Linked DNA regions of Homo sapiens: regions 2, 3, 4 and 5 are each linked to region 1. The links are contacts of gene promoters, found by promoter capture Hi-C in blood cells and fetal thymus (Javierre and others, 2016). All regions are on one chromosome and are shown on one strand. Each heading gives the region's core, a stretch centred on a gene start or on the middle of the fragment in contact. The rest is flanking DNA. Distances are from core to core; before and after follow the strand shown. Region 1 holds the start of INSL6 (insulin like 6). Region 2 holds the start of ERMP1 (endoplasmic reticulum metallopeptidase 1). Region 3 overlaps ERMP1 (endoplasmic reticulum metallopeptidase 1). Region 4 has its middle 54 kb from the start of ERMP1. Region 5 overlaps RIC1 (RIC1 partner of RAB6A GEF complex).

Region 1 (2,591 bases), core at 67-2,566:
GTAATCTTCTTCCTATGGATACACTATAAACAAAGTGCAATTTCTTTTAAAATGACAAATCATACTGGGACTAAAATGTCTTAGTCACAAAATGTAAAAACATAGTAAGATATACCAATGAATCTGGAACAAGAATATCCTTCCTGCAGACTGCTTGAAAGCATCAAGTATAAATTCAGCGCATATTAAACACATGCGATGTGCTAGGCCATCTGCTAAGCATTTCAGACAAAAATATGCATGAAATAGTCCCTATAATACAGTATGGTATATAGGGCTGACTTTATGGGACTGAAACCTATGTAGTCACACAGGCCTTGCATTTGGTTTAAATGTTCCTTTGTTGTTCTGAATAAATTTACCTTTGAAACTTTAAGTGAATGAAATACAAGTACGTAAACTCTTAAATGAAGCCTGATAGGAGAACGGACCAGGCCTATCTCCTGGTACGTGACCAGGGGATATGGACAAGTAAGGAAAACAGTTTTATATTTTACTACCTTTATTTTCATGGCCCTTTCCTGCTTTTTTGAACAAGGTACTCTGCATTTTTATCTTCTACAAGGTTGGGCTGATTCTGTAGCCAATGACGACAGTCAAATACAACTATGTGCTAGATACTGTGGTAGAAAGGACAATGGAGCCATTGGCCATGAAAAGGTCAATGATGACTTCACAGGGAAAATGATACTTAAGTTGGGCTTTGAAGGACAAAAAGGAGTTTGCCAGATGACTGGCACTCCAGAAAAGAACAACATTCTTACATAAATATGTAGACTTACAAGTGTACATTTATTTCCTCCAAGTTAAAAAAAAAAGCGCTTCATTGAAGTTTTGTATATTTTCAATACACTGTTTTTTACAATTTTTTAAAGAGCTGTGTACTAGGCACAAATTCCACTTCCTGGGGAAGCTCACCTTCTGGCAGAGCAAATGCAGGAATAAGAAATATACAGAGGTGAACAAACATGCCTTCGGTTTCGATTTTTACCTGGGTTTGTGCCTCTTCCCCGGGCCGGGGAAGCGGTTTGCGGGCTTTCGAACTGGTATGGGCTGTAGGCTTCGACCTTCTCCGAGGCCTGTGCAATCAACCGTGAGAAAGGGGTTTCCTCCTCGAAACGGAACTGGCTCCAGTTGGCATGGCCGCAGAGTTTTTCTATTTCTTTCACCAAGTACCTGCCGCACAGCTTCCTGGCACTGCTGATGTCGCTCAGTTCACGAGAAAACCGAACCAGCAGGAGTCCAAGCCACAGCAGGGACAAGCGGAGGAGCCGCGGCATCCCTGTGACCCCAGGCTAGTCCTCCGCGTTGTGCAATGGCGGTCGGCCGGACCCTGCTCCCTGTCTGCGCCTGCGCCAGGCCGAGCGGCGCGCACAAACACTGCGGAATTCCGAGCGCGTGGGGGCGTCGCCAGAACTTCAAGGGAAGGCGCGCGCCGGCTGCGTCAAGGCTTTCCCGCCAGCTCAGGGGTCTCAGGTGGTCGAAGGTAGCAGGCCCTGGCTCCTAAAATGAAAGCCAAAAATCCCCTCACTACCCCGCCACCCCCTAGTTTGATTCATTTTTCTTTCCTTCCTCAATGGGAGATTCCTCACCAAGCGTGAGAACATAGGATCCCTGTTACCTGATAACGTAGGTTAAAAAGTGTTGCTCCCTCCACCTGGAATGCGTTTCTCGTTCTTGTTTGCCAGGTTGTTAATAAAGCTTCGTCTCCCTCACAGAAACCCCCTGTCATCTCTTTCACGGTGTTAATCGACCTGTTTCCATTTGTGGGCGTGTAACCTCTTTCCTGAGACCCCCGCTTCATGAAGGCAAGGGCCTGCGTCTGTTCTTGCTTTCCATCGTACCCCGGGATCTGGCATTTAGCTGGCAATCAAATATGTGGTGAAACGTTTAAGTGTTGCATATGGCCATGTGCGTTTAGTCAGGTTCAAAGCTTCTTCAGAAAAATCCTACTGGTTCACAGGGAGGCATGGGCCTTAGCCTCAATCTCCAGAAAAAAGAAGTAGGGACGCTGTCTTGAGGTACCTGGGATGGAAATCTGGTTCTTTCGGTTAGATAATGTAGAGGATTGTGTATTACCAAATTAACTTGTGACAGGGACCCCTAGAGGATTTGCCTTGTAAGAATAACAGCATGCAGCATGAAATGCTCATTTAGGTGAGATAATTTTGCTCAGTTAGGAGGGAAGGGGCAGGGAAGCGAAGCGCAATCGGCATAGGTAGCTTTATCATTTTAAATGAAGTTCTGTGTTACTAGTGTGTTGGCGTGGAAGGATGTACTATCGGCCACAAGAGGGCATTCGGTGGCTGTCTCAGGAATAAGGTTCAGGATGCTGAAGCCACAGGTGCAAGCTTATCAGTGATCTCACCATTTCCCTATACAATTTTATTTTTTTCTCCCTTTCTTTTCTGTCTTCTGACTCTATGTCTTTTTCTTAATTTTCCGTTTCCCTATCTTTTCCCTGCTTCCCAGTGGCATCCATGAATGCTGTTAAATTAACTGCCAATTGGATTTTTTAAATGGTTGATATAATATAGATTAGTAAAATTTAATCACCTTCCTTAAAAAATAACTTATGTCCAAACTATAGT
Region 2 (2,591 bases), core at 25-2,524, 650 kb after region 1:
TAATGAAAACAAAACTGTTTTTGTCTTTTCACTGCATTCCAAGTGGGGAAAGCTGGAAGTGGGGGTGGGAGACGTTTCAGAAAGTCCTTAATAAGCTTGCAACACTTTGCATTCTAGCAAAAACTTTTTAGAACACAGTAGCTGTTGAAAACTTGACGCCAGCTTAACACTTCATGAGCTTTGACACACCTGGGTTACAATATCTTTGACTTAATCACCTTTCCTAGCATTCTTAAAGGTCTTAAAAAAAAAAAAAAAAGTCAAACCTTACACAGTCACTAATCCAAGGGGCCTAAAGATAAACTGCAGGGATCTGAGAATTTATCAGACTGCATACCAAATTTTGACTGGGCGGTGTTCCAGAAAGAGTTTCTATAGCCTTCAGATGTGGGGGCTGTAACCCTCAGAAAGTTAGAACAGTGCACTAGCGCCTTCCAAAACTCCCCGCCCCCAAAGCGAATTTATACAACAGTCTAGGTACACAAATTTCCATCTGGAAAGCAGAAGGGCTAAGCAAGGTAAAAAGGGGAAGCTGTTCCAGAATATGGGGAGACGACTCACAACCAACCATCTGCACGAAGGGCAGACAGTGGAAAGCAGGTTCAATCTACCTGGCAACCCCAATCTGCACCACGAGCTTAACCGGGGACAGGCAAGCCCCAAGTCCCGGCAATTCAGACCCCAGAAGAAGGACAAGCAAGGTCACCCCACCCCACGTGCAGCCTGGGAGGGGTCAGCGAGTCCCAGCGGTCCGGCAGGGGCGGGTGCACACAGGTGCGGTGCCCCGGAGCCTGCGCAGGAGCCGCAAACGGACGCGCGGGCCGTGCCAGGAGGGAGCGGCCGGTACCTGGCTTGGAGCGCGTCGAACTCCCCGCGGTGTCCAGCGGCCCCGCGTAGCACGAGCTGCTGCAGCGAGAGCTGCACCAGCGTCCGCAGCGCGATCAGGTAGAGCGCGAGCCCCAGCGCGGCGCGCACCTCAGACAGCCCGGTCCCCGCGCCCCTGCTCGCGCCGCCGCTACCCCCGGGGCTCCTCTTCCGCGTCCTCCCGCCGCCGCTGCACCCATCCACCAGAGGCTCCTGCGCTCGGGCCTCCCTCTCCGGCGGTGGCGCGGCCGCCGCTCCCTCTCGACGCTCTACTCCGACGCGGTGCCGCCTCACAGCAGCCGACTCAGAACCCCACTCCATGGCCACGAGCCTCAGCTGCCAGCCCAACCGCCCCAACCCGCGACAGCCCCGGCCGCCGCCGACGCCGCCGTCGCTGCCGCAGCGCCTCCTAGTGAGCGGACGGAAACTGCAGAGGGCCAAACTTCTTCTGATTGGCCCGTCCCGCCGCGCCAAGACCCAGCTTCTTTGGCAGTTCTCGGGTGCACACAGCTGCAGGGCCGACCCAGCAGCGGGTGGTGGATATGCCGTCTCCCGCAGGGCTTTTCCAGCCCTCTGTAGGACGGAGATTGCCAAATGTAAAGACACCTAAAAACCCAAAACGAGAAAAATGAGAGATCGCTTTTGAAAGAACACACAAGGCTCTTACAGTGCATCAGGCAGATGAAAAAAGCAATGACCTGGCTTTCGTAAGGAAGGAATATTAGAACATCAGGCTCCAAAAAAGTGGGTTCCTGGCTCTTAAAATTAGAAATAAGATTACGCAGAGGAGGCCCGGCCTATTGCTTTCACATGCATAATCTAATCAGATCTTCATAACTCAGCAACTTAATCTGTGCTATTACTGTCTCCATTTAACAGATAAAGAAAAATAATGGCTATTATTTATTGAATACCTGCTATGAGCTAAGCGCTAGGTCAAGTCCTTTAATACATCATCTTATTTAATTATCTTTAACAATACTTAAAAGGAAATATCTTTGTTCCCATTTTATAACCTGAGAAACGTAGAGATAACAGATGAAGAATGTAAATCTAATTTCATGGGCTCCCAAAACAGCATTCTGTTCCACTACTACATTAGCACTCTGCAAGTGAAGGTTCAGAAAGGCCATTCTTCACTTGACGACTCTCTGGGGCGGTTAAGCAGCAGAGCCTTGGTTTCAGTGCAGATCCTAGTGATTATCTAGTCTTCTTCCAGCTTGCCGGTACCCATGAGCCTCTCTGCTCCAAGGTTTTTTGTCCCTAGCTTGGAGTTGCTACATTAGCATGAGCATTAACCTAGAGACCAACTGGGAGAGCACACTGCCGGATTTTGACTTAGCACATATGTCAGATTTCATACAATGCCCTATAGTCCTGCTCTTGCCCACCTCTCAGGCTCCTCTGACACCAGGATGCTTCTTATTTCCAGCTCTCCAGCCACACTGGCCTCTTTCAAAGACTTCCTGCACGCATCTTTCCTTCTACAATAGGATCTTCTCACATGCTGTTTGAATTACCTGGAGTGTTCTTCTCTCTCCTCATTGTCTTTTTAACTCCTAGTTATCCTTTAAATCTCAGATTAAGTGGTACTTCCTCAAGCAAGAATCTCCTAATTTAATTAAGCTTGCTTCCCCTATTTGTAGGATCTCACAGCACCATGTTTGCATGTGACTATTTCATAACTTCCTCATTAGACTGTAAGCCCCACGAAGGCAGGAATCAGG
Region 3 (2,591 bases), core at 44-2,543, 610 kb after region 1:
CAAAGATGTCCCCTCTCACAACGCCTTGTCAAAATCAAACTAGAAGTCCCAGATAATGTAACAAGTCAAGAAGTGGAAATAAAAATTATAGATATTAGGAAGGAGGAAATAAAACTGTCTGCAGATGATAAGATTGTCTATTCATAGAATCTTAAAAGAATAGGCTGGGCGCGGTGGCTCACGCCTGTAATCCCAGCACTTTGAGAGGCTGAGGCAGGCGGATCACAAGGTCAGGAGTTTGAGACCAGCCTGGCCAACGTGGTGAAACCCTGTCTCTACTAAAATTACAAAAATTAGCCAGGTGTGGTGGCGGGTGCCTGTATTCCCAGCTACTTGGGAGGCTGAGGCGGGAGAATCACTTGAACCCAGGAGGCAGAGGTTGCCGTGAGCCGAGATCGTACCACTGCACTCCAGCCTAGGTGACAGAGTGAGACTGTCTCAAAAAAGAAAAAGAAAAAGAAAAGAAAATCTTCTTAAAGAATAAACCAAACAAAAACAAAAACAAAAACAAAAACAAATCTCCTAGATCTAATAAGTGATTATAGCAAGGCTGCAGGATATGAGGGTAATAATCTGAAACTCAGTTGCTTTCCTGTAGACCATCAATGAACAATACCATTTATTAATACATTAGCACCCCCAAAAATAACTACTTAAAAATAAATCTAACAAAATATATATAAGGATTCTATAAGGAAAACTACAGAACTGATGAAAGAAATCAAACAAGATAAAAATAAATGGAGGGATATTCCAACACGGATAGGAAAAGCCATTATTGTTAAAATATCATTTCTTCCCACCTTGATCTACAGACTCAATACAATCCCAATCAGAACTCCAACAAGTTATTTTGTGAATATTGACAAACTGATTCTAAAGTTTACATGGAAAGGCAAAAGACAAAACACAATTCTGGAGAAGAAGAGTTGGAAGACTGATACTACCCAACTTCAAAACTTAACTATATAATTACAGTGATCATGACAGTTGTGGTATGGGCAAAAGAACAGAGAAATCAGTCAATGGAAAGAACAGTTTGGCAGTTTCTTACAAAGCTAAACATAGGCTTACCATATATAATATCCAGCAATCACACTCCTAAGCATTTACCCAAATGAGTTCAAAAACCTGCCCAGGAATCTTTATAGCAGCCTTATTCAAATATGGATAACTGCTGTACATCTACACAACGGACTATTCAGCAATAAAAAGAAATGGCCTATCAAGTCACAAAAAGATATGGAGGATCCCTTAAATGCATACTTCTAAGTGAAAGAAGTCAGTCGAAAAAGGCTACATACTCTGTGCTTCCAGCTATATGATACCTGGAAAAGGCAAAGCTACAGAGATAATAAAAAGACCAATGGTTGCTAAGGAGAGTGGGAAGAAAAGAGAGATAAATAGGTGAAGCACAGGGCATTTCTAGATGGTAAATCTATTCTGTATGATACTGTAATGGTAGATACATGGCATCACACATTTTTCAATACCCATAGAACTACACAACACGAAGAATGAACCCGAGTGGGAACAACAGGCTTCGATTAATAATAATATATCAGTGTTAAAACTGGTGCATCAGTTTTAACAAATGCACCATACTAATGCAAGACATTAATAGAGGAAAATCGGGGGGCAGGATATGAGAACTCTATAATTTCTACTTAATTTTTCTGTAAACTTAACATTGCTCCAAAAAATAAAAATAATTTTTATTTTTGAGACAGGGTCTTGCTCTGTCACCCAGGTTGGAATGCAGTGGTGCTATCAGCCTTGACCTCCTGGGCTCAAGTGATTCTCCCAGCTCAGCCTCTCAAGTTCTCAAGTAGCTAAGACTACAGGCATGCACCAACATGCCCAGCTAATTTTTTTTTTTTTAATTTTGTAGAGACGGGATGTCACTATGTTGCCCTGGCTGGTCTTGAACTCCTGGGCTCAAGCAATCCTCCTACCTCAGCCTCCTGAGTAGCAAGCATAAGCCACCATGCCTGGCCTATTAAATTTTTGTTAAGAAGTCATAACCAGCTTTGGCCGGGCGTGGTGGCTCATACCTGTAATCCCAGCACTTTGGGAGGCCGAGGCAGGCAGACCATGAGGTCAGGAGTTCAAGACCAGCCTGACCAACATGGTGAAACCCTGTCTCTACTAAAAATACAAAAATTAGCCAGGCATGGTGGCACACACCTGTAATCCCAAATACTCAGGAGGCTGAGGCAGGAGAATCACTTGAACCCAGGAGGCGGAGGTTGCAGTGAGCCGAGATCGTACCACTGCACTCTAGCCTGGGCGACAGAGCGAGACTCCATCTCAAAAAAAAAAAAAAAAGAAGTCATAACCAGCTTCAATTGATTTTAGAAACATCACAGGCTCTTCCTAAGTTGCTGGTTCCTGTGATATATCTGAGGGAAAAACATACATGCCACTTATTAACAAGTTTAAGAAATAAAGGAGGGGAGAAAAAACTATTATATGACTTACCTGTTGCTTCAAAAGTCAATTTTATAGAATCCCAAGGTGTCTGTTCTTTGGATATGAGTCGGAAATGAGGAGGATTTCTTGGAGAAACTTCTGGGGCAGGAAGATACCAG
Region 4 (2,591 bases), core at 51-2,550, 590 kb after region 1:
GTCTTTCCATTTATTGGGTTTTTAATGTCTTTTAACAGTGGATTATAATTTTTGCTAAGTCTCATACTTTTGTTAGATTTATTTCTAAGTATTGCTACTGTAAAAAAAATGGAATTTCCTGTTTTTGGATTGTGTATATAAATACAATTGCTTCTGTATATTGACATTGCATCATGCAACATCAAACTTTTTCTTTTTTGTGGATTCCTTAGGATTTTCTACATTGAAGGTCATGTTGTTTGCAACCAGAGATAGTTTGAACTCTTCCTTTTCAATCTGGATGCCTTTTCTTTCTTTCTCCTGCCAAACGGTCCTGGCTAGAGCCACTAGTACAATGCTTATTAGGTGGCAATAGTGGATATCCTTGTCTTCTGATCTTAGGGAGAAGCTTTCTCTCATCACTAATTATGATGCTAGCTGTGGGTTTTTTATTGATAAGCTTTATCTGGTTGAGGATGTTGCCTTCTGTATAGTTTGTCTTTTACAAAAATCCAAATCCCTTCCATGATAAAAACACTCAACAAACATACATTGCATCTACTGAAGTAGTCATGTGGTTTTTATCCTTTATTCTATTAATATGGTACATTACACTGATTTTCAAATGTTTTTGTTTTAAGACAGAGTTTTGCTCTGTCACCCATGCTGGAAGGAAGTGGCGCAGTCATGGCTTGCTGCAGCCTCAACCTCCTGAGCTCAAGCCATCCTCCTACCTCAGTTTCTATAGTAGCTGGGCCCACAGGCACACACCACCATGCCCTGCTAAATGTTGTGTTTTTAGTAGAGTCAGGGTTTTGCCATGTTGTCCAGGCCAGTCTCAAACTCCTGGGCTTAAGCAATCCACCCACCTTGGCCTCCCAAAGTGCTGAAATTAAGCATGTGCCACTGCACCTGGCCAACTTTCTGTTAAACCAACCTTGCATTCCTGGCATAAATTCCATTTGGTCATGCTGTAGAGCCAAACTGGAGGAAAAAAAAAATTATTACCAACATGTTATGTTTTTACAAGTCAAATATGGAAGTAGAAGTGTCAAAAAATACACTGATACACTCCAAAAATCCCTACGTATTTAAACTAAAAACAGACATTAAGAGCCATAACTGGGATTGCTGGCAAGATGGCTGAATAGGAACAGCTCTGGTCTGCAGCTCCCAGCGAGATCGACACAGAAGGCGGGTGATTTCTGCATTTCCAGCTGAGGTACCTGGTTCATCTCACTGGGACTGGTTGGACAGTGGGTGCAGCCCTGTGAGGGTAAGCCAAAGCCAGGGTAGTTCGTTGCCTCACCTGGGAAGCGCAAGGGGTCGGGGAACTCCTTCTCCCAGCCAAGGGAAGCCATTAGGGACTGTTAGGGACTGTATCTTGCAATCCAGCCCAGATACTGTGCTTTTCCCACAGTCTTTGCAACCCGCAGACCAGGAGATTCCCTCCAGTGCCCACGCCACCAGGGCCCTGGGTTTCCAGTACAAAACTGGATGGCTGTTTTGGGCAGACACAAAGCTAGCCGCAGTTTTTTTTTTTCATACCCCAGTGGCACCTGAAACACCAGTCAGAACCATTCACTCCCCTGGAAAGGGGGCTGAAGCCAGGGAGCCAAGTGGTCTGGTTCGGTGGGTCCCACCCCCACAGAGCCCAGCAAGCTAAGATCCACTGGCTTGAAATTCTTGCTGCTGGCACAGCAGTCTGAGCTTGACCTGGGATGCTCCAACATGGGGGGAGGGGCGTCCACCATTGCTGAGGCTTGAGTAGGCAGTTTTACCCTCACAGTGTAAACAAAGCCACTGGGAAGTTCAAAATGGGCGGAGCCCACTGCAGTTCAGCAAGGCAACTGCAGCCAGACTGCCTCTCTAGATTCCCTCCTCTCTGGGCAGGGCAACTCTGAAAAAAAGGCAGCAGCCCCAGTCAGGGACTAACAGATAAAACCCCCACCTCCCTGGGACAGAGCACTTTGGACAAAGGGCAGTTGTGGGCGCAGCTTCAGCAGACTTACTTAAACGTCCCTGCCTGGCAGCTCTGAAGAGAGCAGCAGATCTCCCAGCACAGCATTGGAGCTCTGATAAAGGACAGATTAACTCCTCAAGTGGGTCCTCCCAGTAGGTGCCAACAGACACCTCATACAGGAGAGCTCTAGCTGGCATCTGGCGGGTACCCCTGTAGGACGAAGCTTCCAGAGGAAGGAACAGGCAGCAATCTTTGCTGTTCTGCAGCCTTCACCAGTGATACCCAGGCAAACAGGGTCTGGACTGGACCTCAAGTCAACTCCAGCCAACCTGCAGCAGAGGGCCTGAATGTTAAGAAGGAAAACCACCAAACAGAAAGGAATACTATCAACATCAACAAAAAGGACGTCCACTCAAGAGAACCCAGCTGAAGGTCACCAACTTCAAAGGTAGATAAATCCACGAAGATGAGGAAAAAACAGCAAAAAAAGGCTGAAAATTCCAAAAAGCAGATCACCTCTTCTCCTCCAAAGGATCACAACTCCTTGCCAGCAAGGGAACAGAACTGGACAGAGAATGAGTTTGACAAATTGACAGAAGTAAGCTTCAGAAGGTGGGTAATAACAAACTCCTCCAAGCTAAAGGAGTGT
Region 5 (2,591 bases), core at 66-2,565, 570 kb after region 1:
GTTCAAGACCAGCCAGGCCAACATGGTGAAACCCCATCTCTATTAAAAATGCAAAAATTATCCAGGTATGGTGGCACACCCCTGTAATCCCAGCTACTTGGGAAGCTGAGGTGGCAGAATTGCTTGAACCCGGAAGGCGGAGGGTGCAGTGAGCCGAGATCATGCCACTGCACTCCAGCCTGGGCAACAGAGTGAGACCCCGTCTTTAAATAAATAAATAAATAAATAAATAAATAAAGCAGGTCTAAAAGGAATATTTTATAATAGTACATTCAGTTTTGATCACTTCATTTTTTGCTTACTCATAGAATGAGCCTAGTCTGCAAAAATATGTAAACATAATCCATTTACTGTTAAAGCTTAGATAGTTCTTTTAACTCCTGTTACTAAAAAAAAAAAAAAAAGTCGGAAGTTAAAAACAGCATGTTTAAAGTATTTGGTCATCCCTAGTAGTTATCTTGTTTTTATAATTTTCTTCATTTTTGTTTTCTTCAGCTTAGAGTATACTTGCGAACATCAAATCTGGACAATGCCTTTGCTCATGTCACCAAAGCACAAGCAGAAACATTACTGCTTAGTGTCTTCCAGGACATGGTAATAGTATTTAGAGCAGACTGTTCAATATGCCTTTACAGTATTGAAAGAAAATCTGATGGGTAAGTATCTGGCATATGAGAAGTCACTTTTTGCTCCTATTTACCACGTTTCTCTTTTGTAGTTTTTGTTTTCTCAAAACAGTTATTCCACTTTTATATTCAATCTTGTTTTTGTTAGAGGTAAAAAAAGCAAGGAGTTTTAATTAGTGATATTGATATAATAGCTAAAAAAAAAAGAAATATCGTACACTAACTTCTTTAGCTTATCTTCCTGGAGTCATTTGAAAAAAATCTAGTTTGGGATGAGGTAAACCCTTAGATACTAAATTTTTTTTCACAACCTTGAAAATAAATGGTTACTGACTCTCCTGGTGCTCTCGATACTTGGTGGGAATTTGAAGGAGTTCTACAACTTTAAGACTGTAGGAAGCATGTCCTTAGCAAACTGACTTATATTTCCACTGAGCTAGATGGCTGTAGTCTGGGGCAGTAAAAAATCAGCAGTGTTGTTGCTGCTGCACGTTGCCTTATATTTGTCTTGGCATCTGGTCTACTTGCAACGTATTTAGACCACACCTCTTGAGTTTTATTTTTGTTCTCAGAGGTTAATTGAAGTATGTATTTACTGAAACAGCACAGTGATTGAGAAGTAATGCAAGATAAAAATTAAGACATCTCACTAGCCTCAATGATTGAACCATCATTCTTTCTCAACCCACTAGTTTTTTCCACTTAAATATTTGTATTCTTATAGCTTCTTCCCTAGTTTTCGTCTTCCCTCCTATTTGTTACTCCCTTTCTTTCTCTCTCATCCCCATATACTCTGGTTCCCCTCAACCTTGCCAACTTCCTGATCGAAGGATATATGGGGAGAAGATGATAGGTAGTAAGACATCTGAGTCTTCCATAAGCATGAAATCTAATACTATTACTAGTGGAAAAGAAAGAAAATCTTATTAGCATTGTTGTTGAGGTATGTGGGTTTCTTTTGTTTTTACAGTCCAAATACTACTGCTGGTATTCAAGTTCTTCAGGAGGTTTCCATGTCACGCTACATTCCTCACCCTTTCCTGGTGGTATCTGTCACTCTGACATCAGTGAGTACAGAGAATGGAATCACCTTGAAAATGCCACAGCAGGTACCACTCCATTATCAAAGGTCTTTGGAGTTTACATTTCTGTTTTTAGTATTTGAGTCCATATTAGGAAGTATTTGTTTGGCAAATAAATACTAAGTGTCTAAAATGTACCTTATATGAGAATGCTGGGTTGCAGTGGCAAATTAAAAAGACATGGTTTCTGCTCAGGCATTAAATAAATAATTACATACATAATGAATTGTTCCTGTTACGTGTACCAAAAAGTAGTACACATTACTGTGAGAGCATTTAACAAAAACCTGTTATAGTCTGAACAGTCAGAGATTTCTGTATCATTTAAATTAAAACTAGGAGAATAAGTAGAAATTATCCAAGTTAAGAGGGGATGGATTTTCAGGTGGAAGGAACAGTAGTGCAAAGGCCCATAGACAAGGCAGAACATGACACACTCAGGGAATTGGAAGAATTTTAGAGTGACTGGGACATGGAAAGTGAAAGAGGATATGAGTCTTGTAGATAATATTGATAATTTTAGACTTTAAGTCTAAAGTGTTTTAAGGTAGGTATTATTAGATCTAAGCTTTATAATGTTTACTGTAAGGAGGAAAATGAACTGAAGTAAGACAAAACTACTGTAGGGAGAGCAACTGGGAGGTCATTGTAATGATCTAGGTCAGTGGTGTTCACAGTCTGAACTTGGGCAGTGAAAAAGGATATGGAAAGAAGTAGAATGAGTATAGAATAGCAAGGGCTTTATAATTAGTTAATTATGAGGAAAGAGAAAGTATAATCCCGTAGTTTCTGGGTAAAGTAACAGGGTAAGAAGTAGGGCGACCAGGACCCACGTTGCATAACTTTCTATTTCAGTGGTTTCTAAACTTCATGTCAACTGGGA

Evidence for each region. The method cuts DNA at HindIII sites, captures the fragments that hold promoters and counts their contacts. A CHiCAGO score of 5 or more calls a contact.
Region 2: the fragment with the promoter of ERMP1 here is called in contact with the fragment with the promoter of INSL6 in region 1 in 2 of 17 cell types (naive B cells and total B cells); the score reaches 7.8 in naive B cells.
Region 3: a contact is called between a fragment that was not itself captured here and the fragment with the promoter of INSL6 in region 1, in 1 of 17 cell types (naive B cells). The highest score is 5.6, in naive B cells.
Region 4: a fragment that was not itself captured here is called in contact with the fragment with the promoter of INSL6 in region 1 in 1 of 17 cell types (naive B cells); the score reaches 5.5 in naive B cells.
Region 5: a contact is called between a fragment that was not itself captured here and the fragment with the promoter of INSL6 in region 1, in 1 of 17 cell types (naive B cells). The highest score is 6.7, in naive B cells.

Annotation. Positions count from the first base shown.
Region 1 is chr9:5,184,323-5,186,913 of GRCh38, forward strand. It overlaps INSL6 (insulin like 6), which reads right to left and starts at 1,317. Exons shown (of 2, transcript NM_007179.3): 1 at 992-1,317. The coding sequence starts at 1,280. The HindIII fragment of the contact is 2,408 bases long and covers 1-1,699 here.
Region 2 is chr9:5,831,843-5,834,433 of GRCh38, forward strand. ERMP1 (endoplasmic reticulum metallopeptidase 1) reads right to left here and starts at 1,275. Exons shown (of 15, transcript NM_024896.3): 1 at 848-1,275. The coding sequence starts at 1,185. RefSeq lists silencers at 842-1,061, 1,142-1,361. The HindIII fragment of the contact is 2,395 bases long and covers 94-2,488 here.
Region 3 is chr9:5,795,336-5,797,926 of GRCh38, forward strand. It overlaps ERMP1 (endoplasmic reticulum metallopeptidase 1), which reads right to left. Exons shown (of 15, transcript NM_024896.3): 13 at 2,482-2,591. Among named protein-coding and RNA genes, the nearest start is that of ERMP1, 36 kb to the right of the region's middle. The HindIII fragment of the contact is 2,635 bases long and covers 1-2,591 here.
Region 4 is chr9:5,778,093-5,780,683 of GRCh38, forward strand. It overlaps a transcript of RIC1 not described here. Among named protein-coding and RNA genes, the nearest start is that of ERMP1, 54 kb to the right of the region's middle. The HindIII fragment of the contact is 1,726 bases long and covers 438-2,163 here.
Region 5 is chr9:5,755,717-5,758,307 of GRCh38, forward strand. It overlaps RIC1 (RIC1 partner of RAB6A GEF complex), which reads left to right. Exons shown (of 26, transcript NM_020829.4): 16 at 496-656; 17 at 1,597-1,735. Among named protein-coding and RNA genes, the nearest start is that of ERMP1, 76 kb to the right of the region's middle. The HindIII fragment of the contact is 1,917 bases long and covers 358-2,274 here.